2 separate regions of the Homo sapiens genome follow, and region 1 is linked to region 2. Evidence: promoter capture Hi-C in human tissues and cell types (Jung and others, 2019). All regions are on one chromosome and are shown on one strand. Each heading gives the region's core, a stretch centred on a gene start or on the middle of the fragment in contact. The rest is flanking DNA. Distances are from core to core; before and after follow the strand shown. Region 1 has its middle 19 kb from the start of ZNF268. Region 2 holds the start of ZNF26 (zinc finger protein 26).

Region 1 (2,700 bases), core at 133-2,632, 180 kb before region 2:
AGGACTCCCATACGAATTTCTTGTTTAGCCAGCCAGTCTACTGGTGATGAATTCCCTAAGTTTTTATTTGCCTGGGAAAGACTTTCTTTCTTCTTCATTTATGACTTCATTTAACTTTTCTGGATATAGCATCCTTGTTTGCTGGAGAGTTACTGTGTTCCTTTGGAGGTGTCATTTTTTCCTTAGTTTTTTTTTTCATATTTCTTGTGTTCTCAACATTGATATATACACATCTGGTGAAAAAGTCACTTCTTCCATTTTTTTGAATTTGCTTTAGTAGAGGAGGACTTTTTCCTAAAGATGTATCTATGGTGACTGCAACTATGTGTCTATGGCTGACTGCAAGCTTTACTTCCCGGGCTTAAGCAATCCTCCTACCTCAGCCTCCCAAGTAGCTGGGACCACAGGCATACACCACCTGGCTAAGTTTTGTATTTTTTGTAGAGACTGGGTTTCACCATGTTTCCCAGGCTGGTCTCAAACACCAGAGCTCCAGTAATCTCCCTGCCTTGGCCTCCCGAAGTGCTAGGATTACAGGCATGAGCCACTGCACCTGGCCAGGTAGGGCACTTTTTAATTTAATTTAATTTTTAAATTTTTTTTTTGAGACAGAATCTCACTCTGTTACCCAGGGTAGAGTGCACTGGTGGGATCTGGGCTCACTGCAACCTCTGCCACCCGGGTTCAAGCGATTTCCCTGCCTCAGCCCCCTGAGTAGCTGGGATTACAGGTGCCCACCACCACACTTGGCTAATTTTTGTATTATTAGTAGAGATGGAGTTTCACCATGTTGGCCAGGCTGGTCTTGAACTCCTGACCTCAGGTGATCCGCCCACCTCCCAGAGTGCTGGGATTACAGGCATGAGCCACTGCGCCTGGCCCGGGGTAGGGCACTTTAGTTTTTATTTTGGGTCCATGCAGCAGTGTAGTCTCCATATAATTTCTTCAGCTGTAAGCAGTTTCAGTGGTACCTGTGATTTCCTCAGTGGCTTAGAGCACCATCGTTGGTGTAGACTGTAGTAGTTTTGCTGGAGATAGGGATTCCAGGTGGGCCAGCCCTTGTGCCCCAGGGCCCAAGGGAGTGGGAGTGGTGGGCCAAGCATGCTTGTCAACGGGGCTCCTGGGATGCAGATATGCAGGAGCTATTGAGCACCAATGCAGGGTGAAGTGTGGTAGGGTCTGGGCTCTCAAAATGGCACTGTGCTGCAGCTACTTAGGACTCAGGGTGTGTGTAAGACCCAGTGTATGCCCCATCTCTGTAGCAATGCCATCATGTGGTCTCCAGGCAGCTACTATGTTGGTCTTAGGGCCTGTGAGGGTTGAGGAAATTTCCCATGCTAGGATTGCAAGAAACCATGGTGGAAATGTGGACTGCTAGGGAATCTCTCACATACCCTTTCCTCACATTGGGGTGTTTCTCTGGGTTCTCAGTCAATCTCCAGTGGCTGAGCAGGCTACCTCACCTCCCTCTGCTTCCTTGCCTTAGGTGTTTTCTATCACTTCTCTGTTGAATTATATGTCCTCTCTTAGATGATCTACTCAAAGTGTGATTATATACTTGCCATTTTTGGTTCCTCTTTGTGAATGAGGTGAGTACCAAATGCCTTTAGTCAGTCATCTTGAAGCCCGCCCTCTAAACATAGGTTTTATATTCACTAGGAAACCAAAAATATTGTGTGACTTCCTTATGATGATTGATTGCTTTGTTGTGGTGGTGTAGAATGAAGCCTGCAGTATCTCCAAGGAATGCCTGTAATCTGTTCACTTTTTAAAATTTACTTTCTGTTCCTCACACATATAATTCCAATTGTTTTATCTCCAAGTTTGCTGATTTACCTTCTGTCTGCTCAAATATGCTGTTAAACCTCTATACTGAATTTTTCATTTCAGTTATACTTTTCATCTCCAGAATTTCTCTTCAGTTCTTTTTAATAATTTCTATCTGTTTATCGATATCACCATTTTGTCTAATAAGTTCAATGTCTAGGCAGTGAGGACTGATTCAGGAACACTCATGTGAAAAGCTTCTATTTCCCAAACATATTATCACAGCATTCTCCAGCACTTTTTAACTGAAAAACCCTTCAGATCAGTATATGACAAAATTCATTAGAATTTTAAAAAATTGGCCGGGTGCAGTGGCTCACGCCTGTAATCCCAGCACTTTGGGAGGCCGAGGTGGGCAGATCATGAGGTCAGGAGATCAAGACCATCCTTGGCTAACAGGGTGAAACCCCGTCTCTACTAAAAATACAAAAAAATTAGCCAGGCGTGGTGGTGGGCGCCTGTGGTCCCAGCTACTCGGGAGGCTGAGGCAGGAGAATGGCATGAACCCGGAAGGCAGAGCTTGCAGTGAGCCAGATCGCACCACTGCACTCCAGCCTGAGTTACAGAGCGAGACTCCGTCTCAAAAAATAAATAAATAAATAAAATAAAGATTAATTTCGGGAGGACTGCCATCTTAACAATACTGAGTTTTCCCATCCTTGACCAAGGTATATTTCTCCGTTTCTTTTGTGTTATTTATTCTTATTATATGTTCCTTAACTTCTTCCAGCAATGTTTTATAGTTTTCACTGTGCAGGTCTTTCATGTTTCATTAAATTTATCTAAGTATTTCACATTTTTTCTATCATTGTAAATGGGATTATATTTCTAATTTCATTTCCTAATTGGTCACTGTTAGTCCAAGCTGCAACA
Region 2 (2,700 bases), core at 99-2,598:
TAAGGTGTCTTTATGTATTTCCAGTTTAGACCTCCCATGTGAGTTACAGGCTGAAATACAGGCATTGGATATTCAACACCTGCGAAAGTCATTCCCAGGGTCCCTCTTCCAATAGCATTCCTAGTCTCCGGCTGTATAGCTCAATGGTAGAGCACCACATCCGGCAACGTCGTCAACACCACTCACCGAGGGCAAAGGATTTGGCAATCAAATCACTTGTAAAGACTCCCCTCTGGTTCACTCCATCAATAATTCATAAAGTCCCGATGATCCACTGGCCCGCCCCTTACCTTTCGGACTCTCGAGCTCCGCTCCTAGCCTTTTCTCCCTATTCATTCACCTGTAATTGCGTCCATAGTTCACTAGACTACCCTCTCCACCAAACCAAAGCTCCTCTAAAATTAGGAACATACATAATTTATCTCTGCATTGCCAGCACCAGCCTTAGAGTCCAGCAGACAAAAGGACACTCCATAAACAAGCATTTGGCCAAACGAAAAAGGAGGAACTGATCATTTCTCCAGCTAAGTTCTAAGGGTCTCCATAAGACAACTTTGTGTAGAAAACATGAAATGATGGAGGATCCTCAGACTTCAGGGCCCGCAGCTGGCCATGAAGTGCAGTATAACTGCCCGTCACAGAATACCACAGGCACGTTTCTGCAGGGCCAGAGCTTGGGCGAGCTTCAGAGGCGCTTTGGTTTGGTGGGGAGGGTAGTCTAGTAAACTACGCACACAATTACAGCTGAATGTGAGTTCAGTTCCCGGAGTAACCCTGAAGAGATTAACGTGGCCACCCTCAGTATCCAGTCGAATTTTAAACACGGAAAGTCTCTACTTACCCAGCACGAAGCTGTCCGGAAACTGGTGGCCATCCCCACGCCCACGTTCGCGCGCTGCCTGCGGGGGCAGGACCCGCGGGCTGCGGAGAGACCGTGAGGGATGCGTCCGCCCGAAGACAGGTGCGGGACCAGGGCCCCAGGCTCCTGACCGTCCCGGGGCCGAGTCGTTGGCAGGGACGCCGGCTCCTCAGCTCTCGCCCAACACAGACCGCGCGTGACTAGACAACCTCCCGGTCTGGGTACCAGGAGTCGCACGGATGGATTTGTGCCTTTCCGTGGCCCTGACTCGGGAGAGCAGGAGGCTGATCTGGCCCCGTCCACGCCCCGGACCGACGGAAGTGTTTAGCTGGTCAAGTCTCTGGTCTGCCCAGGATAATCCGAGCCGCTTAGCTCCGCGCCTCCGCGGCCACAGAGACTCAGCCAGGTACACCCGCTGGCCAGATTCCGGTCCACTGAGTCTAAGCCGGAAACAGCCCTGCACGCGCGCACCCGACTAAGGCCGGGAGTGCGGCGCATGCGGAAGTGCGTCCTGCGTCGATGCGCCAGGACGCGAAGGCGCCGGAAAAACTACATCTCCCACAATCCTCGGAGAAGGCTCCCTCGTTACAGGCCTGGCTTCCAGCTGCCGCGGATCTAGAGAGGGGCACAGCCTGACGGGAAAGGAAGGCTGGGAGGGGGCTCCGCCAGCGGCACCTGGTTCACCCTCCCACGGCTGCGCCAGGTTCAGTACCATCCTCGGAGCCTGGACGCCCAGTTTCCCAGGGCCTGTAGAACTGACTCAGAGTCCGACCCCAGCAGAGACGCAGGCGTGCTGAGGTTTTGATATCAAACAAGATAGGGTTCAGACCAGAAGGCACAGCAAAAAAGGACGCTTTGTAAAGCTAAAAGCTGCAGTTCATAGGGTTAAATAACAGTTTTGAATATCAGTGCACCAAATAATACAGTAACCAACTTCATAAAGGAGAAACTATAGTAGATGTGAAAAACAAATAAATAGAACCACACCAGTAATGAAACTGCCTTTGCAAAAATTATATCAGTGAGAAAATTATAGCAGTGGGGGAGGTCTAATCTAACCAAACCCCCAACTCTGCGCGCCTTTGGCTGTCAAGATGCCTTCATTATTCCTGGGCTTAGGCCAAGCTAACTTTGGAAGACATTTAGGTTATAGTTCAAATGATAGCCCTTTTCCAAAACCCAACTGCCTTTGTAAAACCTATGAGAGACCACCAAGCTAGCGGGAGGAGAGGAGCCTGAATTCTGCTAAGATGTGGATTGGTCACAAGACACGCAACTTCCCCAGTTACTCCTACAGATAACACCACTATTGTAGATTGGCCTTTTGAGATTTAAAAATGTGCAAAATGGCCAGGCACGATGGCTCACGTCTGTAATCCCAGCATTTTGGAGGGCTGAGGTGGGTGGATCGCATGAGCCCAGGAGTTGGAGACTAGCCTGGGCAACATGGTGAAACCTCGTCTCTACAAAACATATCAAAAGTAAGCCGGATGTGGTGGCATGCATCTGTAGTCTCAGCTACTTGGGGGGCTAAGGCAGCAGAATTGCTTGAGCCCGTGAGGTGGAGGTTGCAGTGAGCCGAGATTGCACCATTGCACTCCAGCCTCGATGACAGGAGTGAAACCCTGTCTCAAAAAAAAAAAAAAAAAAAAAGTGCCAAACATCTGAATAGACATTTCTCAAAAGAAGACATACAAATGGCAAACAGGTATATGAAAAGGTACACAATATAATTGATCATCAGAGAAATGCAAATCAAAACTACAACGAGATATTATCTCACCCCAGTTAAAATGGCTTTTATCCAAAAGACAAGCAATAATAAATGCTGGTGAGGATAT

The links. Contacts are between HindIII fragments. The study calls those that stand out against the background at their distance.
Region 1: a fragment that was not itself captured here is called in contact with the fragment with the promoter of ZNF26 in region 2 in 2 of the 25 tissues and cell types used here (dorsolateral prefrontal cortex and lymphoblastoid cells).

What each region holds. Positions count from the first base shown.
Region 1 is chr12:133,160,705-133,163,404 of GRCh38, reverse strand. No RefSeq gene overlaps it. Among named protein-coding and RNA genes, the nearest start is that of ZNF268, 19 kb to the left of the region's middle. The HindIII fragment of the contact is 4,932 bases long and covers 1-2,700 here.
Region 2 is chr12:132,985,015-132,987,714 of GRCh38, reverse strand. It overlaps ZNF26 (zinc finger protein 26), which reads right to left and starts at 1,348. Exons shown (of 4, transcript NM_019591.4): 1 at 842-1,348. The coding sequence starts at 874. RefSeq lists enhancers at 728-777, 503-1,002, 1,258-1,727. The HindIII fragment of the contact is 17,637 bases long and covers 1-2,700 here.